Regions from separate parts of the Homo sapiens genome. Here region 1 is linked to region 2. Evidence: promoter capture Hi-C in 16 types of primary human blood cells and fetal thymus (Javierre and others, 2016). All regions are on one chromosome and are shown on one strand. The core of a region is centred on a gene start or on the middle of the fragment in contact, and the rest is flanking DNA. Distances in the headings are between cores, read along the strand shown.

What was found. The method cuts DNA at HindIII sites, captures the fragments that hold promoters and counts their contacts. A CHiCAGO score of 5 or more calls a contact.
Region 1: the fragment with the promoter of ZNF689 here is called in contact with the fragment with the promoter of GDPD3 in region 2 in 4 of 17 cell types (fetal thymus, total CD4 T cells, erythroblasts and 1 more); the score reaches 10.5 in fetal thymus.

What each region holds. Positions count from the first base shown.
Region 1 is chr16:30,608,179-30,614,836 of GRCh38, reverse strand. ZNF689 (zinc finger protein 689) reads left to right here and starts at 4,448. Exons shown (of 3, transcript NM_138447.3): 1 at 4,448-5,000; 2 at 5,199-5,312. The coding sequence starts at 4,796. LOC124903678 (a long non-coding RNA gene) reads right to left here and starts at 4,363. Exons shown (of 2, transcript XR_007065051.1): 1 at 4,074-4,363. RefSeq lists an enhancer at 3,452-4,421 and a silencer at 4,709-4,758. The HindIII fragment of the contact is 6,999 bases long and covers 1,851-6,658 here.
Region 2 is chr16:30,109,081-30,115,075 of GRCh38, reverse strand. GDPD3 (glycerophosphodiester phosphodiesterase domain containing 3) reads left to right here and starts at 1,539. Exons shown (of 10, transcript NM_024307.3): 1 at 1,539-1,736; 2 at 2,012-2,054; 3 at 2,283-2,418; 4 at 2,508-2,553; 5 at 2,652-2,770; 6 at 2,855-2,944; 7 at 3,555-3,688. The coding sequence starts at 1,598. It overlaps MAPK3 (mitogen-activated protein kinase 3), which reads left to right. Exons shown (of 9, transcript NM_002746.3): 9 at 368-971. RefSeq lists a silencer at 1,274-1,568. The HindIII fragment of the contact is 12,096 bases long and covers 1-5,995 here.

The sequences.
Region 1 (6,658 bases), core at 3,199-5,698, 500 kb before region 2:
AGCCTCCCCGGTTCAAGCGATTCTCCTGCCTCAGCCTCCTAAGTAGCTGGGATTACAGGCATGCACCACCACTCTCGGCTAATTTTTTGTATTTAGTAGAGACAGGGTTTCACCATGTGGGTCAGGCTGGTCTTGAACTCCTGACCTCAGGCAATCCACCCGCCTCAGCCTCCTGAAGTGCTGGGATGGATTACAGGTGTGAGCCACCACGCCCAGCTGACCTGACTTTTCTTAACAGATTCATGCAGCCCAGGTTTTTTGTTTGTTTGTTTGTTTTTGTTCTATTCATTTAAACACAGAGTCTCAATCTGTTGACCACGCTGGAGCGCAGTGGTGTAATAATCATAGTTAACTGCAGCCTTGAACTCTTGGGCTCAAGTCATCCTCTCGCCTTAGCCTCCCAAAGGGCTGGGACTACAGGCATGAGCCACCATGCCCACACGCCCAGCCACAATTAGGAGGCTAGAGCTCCCGCCTTTTTTTTTTGTTGTTGTTGTTGTTTTTGTTTTTTGAGACAGGATCTCATTCTTTCGCCCAGGCTGGAGTGCAGTGGTGCAATCTTGGCTACTGTAGCCTTGACCTCCCAAGTCTCAATCGATCCCCCCACCTCAGCTTCCCAAGTAGCTGGGACTATAAGTGCCCGACACCATGCCTAGTTAATTTTTGTATTTTTTGTAGAGAAAGGGTTTTGCCATGGTGGCCAGGCTGGTCTTGAACTCCTGGGCTCAAGCAATCCCCCCACCTCGGCCTCCCAAAGTGCTGGGATTATAGGTGTGAGCCACCACACCTAGCCTGTAACTGTAGTTTTTTTTCCACCACCTCTGTTCAAACATCTCCTTCCTCTGAATATCTCACTGCTGCCTCCTCATCCTCCTCCTCCTTCTTCTTTCTTCTCCTTCCTCTTTTTTTTTTTTTTTTTTGAGACGAGTCTCGCTCGGTCGAAAGCTCCGCCTCCCGGGTTCACGCCATTCTCCTGCCTCAGCCTCCTGAGTAGCTGGGACTACAGAAGCCCACCACCATGCCTGGCTAATTTTTTATATTTTTAGTAGAGACGGGGTTTCACCGTGTTAGCCAGGATGGTCTTGATCTCCTGACCTAGTGATCTGCCCGCCTCGGCCTCCCAAAGTGCTGGGATTACAGGCGTGAGCCACCAAGCCCAGCCTTTTTTTTTTTTTTTTTTTTTGAGACTTAGTCTTACTCTGTCACCCAGGCTGGAGTGCAGTGGCACCATCTTGGATCACTGCAACCTCCGCCTTCCAGTTTCAAACAATTCTCTTCGGCTGGGCCTGGTGGCTCATGTCTGTAATCCCAGCACTTTGGGAGGTCGAGGCGGACAGATCAGCTGAGGTCAGGAGTTCAAGACCAGCCTGACCAACATGAAGAAACCCCATCTCTACTAAAAATACAAAATTAGCTGGGTGTAGTGGCGCATGCCTGTAATCCCAGCTACTCGGGAGGCTGAGGCAGGAGAATCGTTTGAATCCGGGAGGCGGAGGTTGTGGTGAGCCGAGATTGCTCCATTGCACTCAGCCTGGGGAACAAGAGCAAAACTCCGTCTCAAAACAAAACAAAACAAAACAAAACAGAAAACAATTCTCATGCCTCAGCCTCCCAAGTAGCAGGGACTATAGGCATGTGCCACCAAGCCCGGCTAATTTTTGTATTTTTAGTAGAGACAGGGTTTTGCCATGTTGGCCAGGCTGGTCTTGAACTCCTGGCCTCACGTGATCCACCCACCTCGGCCTCCCAAACTGCTGGGATTACAGGTGTGAGCCACTGCTCCCGGCCTCATTGCCTTCTAATTTTGTGACTTTTCCTGCCACATTGTTTGTCTTTATTCCTTGAAAGCTTTGAGGTTAGTGTTTTGCCCATAGTATATGCTTTACAATATTGATTAAAGGGTTAGAGAGATAGATGTGCATGTCACTAGCTAAGAGACATGGCAAATGGTGTATTCTCCTGCTCGCAGGACCCTTGGGGGTGGCATTGAGCTGGTGAAACTCTGCAGTATAACACATACATAGAAGTAGGGGCTAGGGCGGGCGTGGTGGCTCATGCCTGTAATCCCAGCACTTTGGGAGGCAGAGGTGGTTGGATCATGAGGTCAGGAGTTCGAGACCAGCCTGGCCAAGATGGTGAAATCCCGTCTCTACTAAAAATACAAAAATTAGCCGAGCAAAGTGGCGGGTGCCTGTAATCTCAGCTACTCGGGAGGCTGAGGCAGGAGAATCACTTGAACCCGGGAGGCCAAGGTTGCAGTGAGCCGAGTTTGCACCACTGCACTCTAGCCTGGGCAACAGAGCAAGACTCCGTCTAAAAAAAAAAAAAAAAAGGGCTGGGCACAGTGGCTCACGCCTGTAATCCCAGCACTTTGGGAGGCTGAGACGGGTGGATCACGAGGTCAGGAGATCAAGACCATCCTGGCTAACATGGTGAAACCCCGTCTCTACTAAAAATACAAAAAATTAGCTGGGCGTGGTGGCGGGCGCCTGTAGTCCCAGCTACCCGGGAGGCTGAGGCAGGAGAATGGCGTGAGCCCGGGAGGCGGAGCTTGCAGTGAGCCGAGATGGCGCCACTGCCCTCCAGCCTGGGTGACAGAGCGAGACTCCGTCTCAAAAAAAAAAAAAAAAAAAAAATGTGGAGGCTAATGGGGTGGGTGCTGGCTTGTTCCATCAGCAATTTTCAGTTCAGTGCCTTTCACATACATGCTTGTATCATTCTGTTATGATTCATTGTGAATTTATATGCTTTACTAGACTGTAAGCTCCATTCAAAGCATGGCCTATGACTTATTTATGTACGCTCTCCCAATTGCCTAGCACTATGCTTTGTACGTTGAACAAATGTCACGTGAAAATAATGTAGGGAGATTATGCAGAATATTGAACTTGAGAAGAAAACAAGAGCTCAGGTGGATTCCTGGTTTAGCAAGCAAATTAGGATACTGTGAAGGAAGGATGCCTATCAGTGGTATGAATAAAGGCTCTGTCTGCCCCAGGTTTAAATCTTTATTCCCCACTCCTTACTAGCAGTATGGCCCTGGAAACTCATGGAATCCCTCTGAGATCGTTTCTTCATTAGTAGAACCAGGATGATAACCATTGGTTCACAAAATGCTAGTAAAGAATTAATAACGGGCTGGGTGTGGTGGCTCACTCCTGTAATCCCAGCACTTTGGGAGACCGAGGTGGGCGGATTGCTTGAGCTCAGGAGTTCGAGACCAGCCTGGGAAACATGGCGAAACACCGTCTCTACCAAAAATACAAAAAATTAGCAGAGCACTGTGGGTGCATGCCTTCACTCCAGCCTGGGCAACGGAATGAGACCCAGTCTCAAAAAAAAAAAGCGAATAACTAATGGCTCCGGTGCTGTGGCTTATGCCAGTAATCCCAGCCCTTTGGGAGGACGAGGCAGGAGGATCACTTAGCCTAAGGGTTCGAGACCAGCCTGGGCAACACAGGGAAACCCTGACTCAACAAATAACATAAAAAATTAGCCAGGCGTGGTAGTGCACACCAGTAGTCCCAGTTACTCTGAAGGCTGAGGCAGGACGATTGCTTGAGCCCAGGAGTTAGAGGCTGCAGTGAGCTGAGATTGCACTACTGCATTCCATCCCGCCCGGGTAACAGAGTGAGACCCTGTCTCAAAAAAATAAAAATAAGGCCGGGCATAGTGGCTCACGCCTGTAATCCTAGCACTTCGTGGGGCCGAGGTGGGTGAATCACTTGAGGTCAGAAGTTCGAGACCAGCCTGGCTAACATGGTGAAACCCCATCTCTGCTAATAAATATGAATATTAGTCAGGAGTGGTGGCACGCGCCTGTAATCTCACTTACTCGGGAGGCTGAGGCAGGAGAATCGCTTGAACGTGGGAGGTGGAAGCTGCAGTGAGCCGAGATTTCGCCACTGCACTCCAGCCTGGGCGACAGAGCACGACTCTGTCTCAAAAATAAATAAATAAAATAAAAATAAAAAATAATAAAGATGAAATATGTAATATGCTGGGCATGGCGCCTGCCCCCAGGAAATGCTAACCATAATTCCCTCCCCTAAAGGGCAAACAAAGAAGATAACCATTCTCCAAAGTCAAGGATGCTCTGAGAACACCAGTAAAAGGAACTCAGGATAATCTCAGCTCTAACTCGGCCAGAGTGGCTCCATCGCTCAAATCGTTCCCTCCTTCAGTGATTGGCTGAGCCTGCCAGAGTCGAACAGCGGAAAGCAGCCCCGGGGCCTCTTGCTGCCCCCAGGTCGGTGCAAGTCGCTTCACAACTCCTTGTAGTCGCCTGATCCTAGCAGTCCAGCTTCCTGCCCTTATGCAGCTCTTGGCTTCGTTCAAACGGACCGCCTTTGCTAGCACCCAATCAGAACGCTCGATCTTCGGCTCTCGTCCAATGAACGCGCGTATTGGGGAGGGGAAAAAAGACGGCGTGAAGCCCAATCGCAGCGCCATTACACTTGAGGGCAAAGAGGTTAGGAAGCCGGCATGGCGCTCCGGTCAATAAAATCGATAGCTGGAAGCTGCCTGTGTTCCAGGCAAAGGCGGTGCGGTAGCAGCGCCGCCATTTTCCCCGAAGGCATCTTCCGGTGCCTTTCACCCAAGTTCGGGCAGGAGTTTCCTGAATAACAGCAAAAGGTTTCCGTTAGCCCCGCGGGCGACCAATTCCGATTCCCTCCGGGCCTCCCCGGCCACGCTCAGCCCTGGTCCGGCAGGGGCTCCTCGATCCCAGGGGCCGCCAGCGCCCGAGGGCCGAGGCCTGGACACGGAAGGCCGTGGCGCCGGCTTCTCGGGTCCCATGGCGCCACCTTCGGCTCCGCTCCCTGCGCAGGGACCAGGAAAGGCCAGACCCAGTCGGAAAAGGGGCAGGAGGCCGAGGGCTCTGAAGTTCGTGGACGTGGCCGTGTACTTCTCCCCGGAGGAGTGGGGCTGCCTGCGGCCCGCGCAGAGGGCCCTGTACCGGGACGTGATGCGGGAGACCTACGGTCACCTGGGCGCGCTCGGTGAGGCCGGCCCCATCCGCTGCCGCGGGGCGCGAAGGGATGCAGGAGCCGGAGAGGGTGTAGGCAGGGAGGCCACGGTCCTGGCAGGCGACCAGGTTGTCAGGGGAGGTGGGCAGGGGCTTAGCAGGAGGTGCCGTCGGGGAGATACTACTCGGCGTGATCTAGGAGCTGGCCTTCTGATTTGTTCTCTTTCCCCAGGGTGCGCAGGTCCCAAACCAGCCCTCATCTCCTGGTTGGAACGAAACACCGATGACTGGGAACCGGCTGCTCTAGATCCGCAGGAGTACCCGAGAGGGCTAACAGTCCAGAGAAGTGAGTGCTAAATAACCACGCAGAGCCTGCAGCCCTCCTATAACGTTCTACCTCTAACGGCTCTGTCCAGAGTTTTGGTTGGGCTAGGGGTGGGTGCCGCGTATTTAGTATATTCATCTTCCCAGCCTCTTGTGTCTGGTGGTGTGGGGCCGGTCCACCACACAGAGATTCCTATGTCAGTCTGCAAGCTGCAGTTTTCCACTGTGTGAATGAATCAGTGGGCTTATTCTTCGTCTTTTTTTTTTTTTTTTTTTTTTGTAGAAACATTGTCTTGCTCAGTTCGGTCTTGAACTTCTGGCCTCAAGCGATCCTCCTGCCTTGGCCTCCCAAAATGCAGGGGTTACTGGCGTGAGCCATTGCAGCCAGCCAGAATCAGTGAGCTTTTAACAGGTGCTACCCTCTGCCTCCTTTCCAGGATCTCTGCCTCTAGCCACCTTTGAGTTGGACCAAAGAGATCCTAAACTTCTCAGAGTTTTCTGGGTTTTGGTTGAAGGGAGCTCATGGGGAACAGCTGCCTGGGATGCAGGGGCCTCTTTCTGCTCTTACGGCAGGATGACCCTTATCAGCGAAGGACATACTGCAATCTCCTCAGAATCCAACAAGGCTCTGCTTAACCCCATTCAGGTAGAAGGGTCCCAGATCCACCCATAGTAGAAGATGGAGCTGTCTGGGCTGGAATTTCAGAGCCAGATTCTTCAAGACCAGGGATAGCTGTCCAAGATTCAGATCTGACCATGATATTTCCTTGCTTAAAACTTTTCAGTTAATTTTTGCCAAGGTTGTTAAATGGCCATTGGTTATATCTAAATCACTTGGGGAACTTGGTAAAAACGCAGGTTCCAGGACCCCATCCCAGAGCTATTCATTCACTCGTGTGAATGTTTAGGAACTTCCATTTTTTAAATAGCCTCAGCTGATTCAGATGTGCATCTAGGTTTGAAAACCGGCCGGCTGGTGGCTCATGCCTGTAATCCCAGCACTTTGGGAGGCCGAGGTGGGTAGATCACTTGAGGTCCGGAGTTCAAGACCAGCCTGACCAACATCGTGAAACCCCGTCTCTACTAAAAAAATACAAAAATTAGCCGGGCACTATGGTGGGCGCCTGTAATTCCAGCTACTCAGGAGGCTGAGGCAGGGAGAATTGCTTGATCCTGGGAGGTGGAAGTTACAGTGAGCCGAGATCATGCCAGTGTACTCCAGCCTGGGTGCCACAGTGAGACTCCATCTTGGGGGAAAAAAAAAAAGAAAAGAAAACCATTGGGTAAAATACAGTCCAAGGTCTTTAACAATGCTAACAGCAGTGGTTCTCAAAGCGTGGTCTCAGACCAGAAGCAGCATTATTTGGA
Region 2 (5,995 bases), core at 290-2,789:
TTGTGGAGCTGGGGTCTTGCTATGTTGCCCAGGCCAGTCTCAAACTCCTGGGCTCAAGCGATCCACCACCTCAGCTTCTCAAAGTGCTGGGATTATAGGCGTGAGCCACTGTGCCCGGCCGAGACAGTTCTAATAATGAAAGCATAAAGCCCTAAGCATTGTTCTAAGAGGTTTACATGTATTAATTCCTTTAATCTTACAGCAGTACCTCAAGCTAGGTACTATTATTATCTCCATTTACAGATAAGGAAACTGAGACCCAGCCTATCCAGCTGTGAGGGTGAAATGAGAGATGTTGAGGTCAGGGCTCCAGTGGGTCTGCCCGGGGGGTGCTAACGACTCCTCTTCTGCCTGCTTCTCTCTTTAGGACCTGCCTCCTGCCTGCCCCTCTCCCGCCAGACTGTTAGAAAATGGACACTGTGCCCAGCCCGGACCTTGGCAGCCCAGGCCGGGGTGGAGCATGGGCCTGGCCACCTCTCTCCTTTGCTGAGGCCTCCAGCTTCAGGCAGGCCAAGGCCTTCTCCTCCCCACCCGCCCTCCCCACGGGGCCTCGGGACCTCAGGTGGCCCCAGTTCAATCTCCCGCTGCTGCTGCTGCGCCCTTACCTTCCCCAGCGTCCCAGTCTCTGGCAGTTCTGGAATGGAAGGGTTCTGGCTGCCCCAACCTGCTGAAGGGCAGAGGTGGAGGGTGGGGGGCGCTGAGTAGGGACTCAGGGCCATGCCTGCCCCCCTCATCTCATTCAAACCCCACCCTAGTTTCCCTGAAGGAACATTCCTTAGTCTCAAGGGCTAGCATCCCTGAGGAGCCAGGCCGGGCCGAATCCCCTCCCTGTCAAAGCTGTCACTTCGCGTGCCCTCGCTGCTTCTGTGTGTGGTGAGCAGAAGTGGAGCTGGGGGGCGTGGAGAGCCCGGCGCCCCTGCCACCTCCCTGACCCGTCTAATATATAAATATAGAGATGTGTCTATGGCTGACCCTGGCTCTGTCTGTGTTCGCGACGCCCCCGCCCTGCCCCGTGCGGCTCTGAGGACAGACTTGACTTGGGCTTTCAGGGGCCTGGTGCCCTTCACTCCCAGCTGCCCAGGGCTGGGGACGGGGCTCTGGAGAGCTCCAGACTCCTAGAAAGAAGGGGGTCAGTTTTCCCCTTAGTCACTGTCCTGTCCTCTCGCTAATGGCTTCCTGTCTAACTGGCTGGGGGTGATTCGGGGTGACTCAGGAGCACCCTACACACCCCTGGATCCTCTGAAATGGCAAGGGGTAGGCATGTTGGATGCGCTGGCTACAAGTACCAGTGAGAGGGAGAGGTCCTGACAGTCCTGGGTGGTTTTTACTCCCCTCATGTAGCCCAGGACGGGGCTGCTGGGGGCTGGGAAGGGCCTGGGGATATGAGAGCCAGGGCTACTTGCCTCACCTCCTGACACTACCCCAGCTTCAGCCGAACCCTGCAGCCTGGCTCCAAGCCAGCCCAGCGGCAGGCTCAGCAGGTCCCAGGGGCGTGGCAGTGGCCAGTAGTAGAGCCGGCCCACACTGGCTAGGCAGGCAGCACAGTCCCGCGGACGGCTGAGCGTGTGGCTGCAGGAGCTTCTGTGGGAGTACGGTCATGAGCCTTTTGCTGTACTATGCCCTCCCTGCCCTGGGCAGCTATGCCATGCTCTCCATCTTCTTCCTGCGCCGGCCTCATCTGCTGCACACGCCCAGGGCTCCCACCTTCCGCATCCGCCTGGGGGCCCACCGAGGAGGTGAGCCGGGTAGGGGTGAGAACAGGTGCCAAAGTGGACAGCACAGAGGGGTAGGTCCAAGGGGGCATGCTAGAAACGGGGCAGGGACCAAGAGAGAAGGAGAGCGAAGTGGCAGGGCAGGGTGTGGACGAGGAAGAAGATGCTGGCGCAGCCTGGGCTGGCTGGGGAGGTGAGGCCAGAGGGAGGATGGAGCCCAGAGAGGGAATGTGGGTGATGAGGTTGGGCCAGGCCCCTAGACCCCAAGCCCCAGAGGCCCACTCCAGTGCCCCCCACAGGATCTGGAGAGCTGCTGGAGAACACCATGGAGGCCATGGAGAAGTGAGTGTATCTGCCCCTGCCCAGGCTGCCATGTGAGGGTGTGCAGGTCGTGGACTGCATCACAGCAAGGGACGCCATTCACTTCCTAGCTGGGTGACTGGCGCCCCCTGGAGGTGGCCTGCACATCCCGCCACGAACTCCGCTCTCACATTCCCGGCCACCTCCCAGCCACCATGCCCCTCATCCCAGTCCCCTGCCCCTGCCCCCCGCTGACCTTCACCCCCACAGCTCCATGGCCCAGCGCTCGGACCTCCTGGAGCTCGACTGTCAGCTGACACGGGACAGAGTGGTGGTGGTGTCACATGATGAGAACCTGTGCCGCCAGTCGGGCCTAAACAGGGATGTGGGCAGCCTGGACTTCGAGGTGGGCCCTGCCCTGACACCCCAACCCCCACCCTGAGAGTCACCATGCCCAATGCGGGCCTCTAGTGACATCCTTCCTGTCCTCCCCAGGACCTGCCCCTCTACAAGGAGAAGCTGGAGGTTTACTTCTCTCCAGGTGAGAGCAAGGGCTTCGAGCCCTGCCTGGGCCATGCCTGCCTTCCTTGGACCTCCGCCTTGGCTTCCCTCTGACCCCTTTTCCCACACCACCCCCAGGCCACTTTGCTCACGGGTCAGACCGGCGCATGGTTCGTCTGGAGGACCTGTTCCAGAGGTTTCCAAGGACACCCATGAGCGTAGAGATCAAAGGGAAGAACGAAGAGCTCATCCGTGAGGTGGTGCTGCAGGCAGGGCTAGGGCGGCCACCGGGGGCGTGAGAGAGGCCTGGCTCTCCCTTCACCTCCTTCTCCTCCTCCCAGATAGCAGGCTTGGTGAGACGCTATGACCGTAATGAAATCACCATCTGGGCCTCGGAGAAGAGCTCGGTCATGAAGAAATGCAAGGCTGCCGTGAGTCCCCCCACCCCTCCCCCGTCCTCTTCCTCCTCCAGGGGCCCCTCCTCCCCAGAGCTGGAGCCCACCCAGCATGGGGACCCGAGCTAGAGGGGTCTGGGAGAGTTCCCAGTGGCGTGGCGGTGGCAATGAAAAGGGTGTGAACTCAGGCCTCGAACACAGAGCCAAGATGTGACTTTTGTTTTTTTTCTTTTTTGAAACACAGTCTCTCTCTGTCGCCCAGGCTGGAGTGCGGTGGTGCGACCTCGGCTCACTGCAACCTCTGCCTCCTGGGTTCAAGCGATTCTCATGCTTCAGCCTCCCGAGTAGCTGGGATTACAGGTGCACGCCACCACGCCCAGCTAATTTTTGTATTTTTAGTAGAGATGGGGTTTTACCATGTTAGCCAGGCTGGTCTTGAACTCCTGATCTCAGGTGATCCACCTGCCTCAGCCTCCCAAACTGCTGAGGTTACAGGCGTGAGCCACCACACCCAGCCCCAAGATGTGACTTGGATCCTGCAGGTAGTAGGGCCTCTGGAATGCCCACCACGGCTCCCCTGCAGCTCATGCCTCCTCTCTGCTTCCCCAGAGCAGACAGATTCTCATGCCTCTCCTTGCCTCCCCAGAACCCCGAGATGCCCCTGTCCTTCACAATAAGCCGAGGATTCTGGGTGCTGCTTTCCTACTACCTGGGGCTGCTGCCCTTCATCCCAATCCCTGAGAAGTTCTTCTTCTGCTTCCTGCCCAACATCATCAACAGGTACCAGTGGGGGGCGGACCTCAGAAAAACTCCCCACTGCTTAGGGTCTCCGTGGAGAAGGAGCCCAGATCTTCCCAGCTCCCCAGCTCCCCTCAGAGATAACCCCCAAGGTCTTTTAAGGACAGTGGTTCTTACCCAGCATTCATGAATACTAAGGGAACTGTGAACACCCTGAAATTCTGTGCATATGTGGAGTTTTAGGATAGAGAGGTAATTTATCCATCTCAGGCCATCTAGCATATTTTATTGAATGTCTACTCTGTCCCAGGTGCAGTTATAATGTGTAAATGAGACCAGTGAGGGTGGGGAGAGGTCCTTGGTGAGCTTACAGTCTGGCTGGGGAGACATTCGTTCATTAATTATAGCACGGCTGTCTCAGACCCTCAGCAGGAAAAGGCCAAGTCAGTGTTCTGCAGGAAGGCAGGGGTTAACAAAGTAACAGCTGGGGAAAGGATCAGGAATTTGGATACTTCGCTGGCACTTAAGCCTAGTCCCTCCCTTTGCTTTACAATTTTTTTTTTTTTTTTGAGACAGTCTTGCTCGGGCTGGAATGCAGTGGCCAGATCATGACTCACTGCGCCTCGACCTCCTGGGCTCAGGAGATCCTCCTGCCTCAGCCTCCTAAGTAGCTGGGAGTATAGGCGTGCAACACTGCACCTGGCTAATTGTTAAATTATTTGTAGAGACAAGGTCTCACTATGTTGACCAGGCTGCTCTTGAACTCCTCAGCTCAAGCGAGCCTCCCACCTTGGTCTCCCAAAGTGCTGGGATTACATACCTGAGCCCCTGGGCCCGGTCTCCCTTTGCTTTCTGACAGCTTCTCTGTGGTAGTCCCAGAGCTCTCTGCTCCCCTCTGTTGTCCAGAAGGAAGTCCCACTCAGCCCCCACAATACCTTGCTACAAAGAGATCAATGATATTTGTGTACCACCTTTTTATACCGGATTTTTTTTGTGTTTTTTGAGGAGTCTTCCCCTGTTGCCCAGGCTGCAGTGCAGTGGCGTGATCTCGGCTCACTGCAAGCTCTGCCTCCCTGGTTCACGCCATTCTCCTGCTTCAGCCTCCCGAGTAGCTGGGACTACAGGCGCCCGCCACCACACCCGGCTAATTTTTTTGTGTTTTTAGTAGAGATGGGGTTTCACCGTATTAGCCAGGATGGTAATCTGACCTCATGATCCGCCTGCCTCGGCCTCCCAAAGTGCTGGGATTACAGGCGTGACCCACTGCGCCCGGCCTTATACAAGATTTATAAAGTGTTTTAACATATTTTGGGTTGACTTTTACCTTGCAGCACCCCCAGGAGGTATAAGAATCATGACTCCCATGGTACCCTAGAGAATCTGAGGCCCAGAGAGGTTCTGTAATTTGCCCAAGGACACACAGCTGGAAATCCAGAGCTTAGGTTTTCCCTGGGTCTGACTCCAGAGCCTGCCCTAGGACACTGTCAAGGGTCTCTAAAGTCACCCCTGGAGTGGGATAATTAGGGGTCGTCCCACTAAGTGCTGTCTGGTCTCAAGAAGCTGGCCAATGGGCACAGTGGCTCACGAGGTTTTTTGTGGGTTTTTTGTTTGTTTGTTTGTTTTTGAGACGGAGTTTTGCTCTTTTTGCCCAGGCTGGAGTGCAATGGTGCCATCTTGGCTCACCGCAACCTCCGCCTCCCAGATTCAAGCGATTCTCCTGCTTCAGCCTCCCAAGTAGCTGGCATTACAGGCATGCACCACCATCCTGGCTAATTTTGTATTTTTAGTAGACACAGGGTTTCTCCATGTTGGTCAGGGTGGTCTTGAACTCCGGACCTCAGGTGATCCACCCGCCTCGGCCTCCCAAAGTGTTGGGATTACAGGCGTGAACCACCGCGCCCGGCCATTGTTTTTTGTTTTTGAGAAGGAGTCTCACTCTGTGGCCCAGGCTGGAGTGCAGTAGTGCGATCTTGGCTCACTGAAACCTCCGCCTCCTGGGTTCAAGCAATTCTCCTGCCTCAGCCTCCCAAGTGGCTGGGACTACAGGGTCTGCCACCACGCCCGGCTAATTTTTGTATTTTTAGTAGAGACGGCGTTTCGCCATGTTGGCCACGCTGGTCTCCTCCCACCTCAGACTTTCAAAGTGCTGCGATTACAGGTGTGAGCCACCACACTTGGCTGGCTCGTGCTTATTATCCTGGCACTTTTGGGAGGCTGAAGCGGGAGGATTGCTTGAGTCCAGGAGTTCAAGACCAGCCTGGGCAACATAGTGAGACATGTCTCTACAAAAATTTTTTAATGGCCGGGCACGGTGGCTCACGCCTGTAATCCCAGCACTTTGGGAGGCCA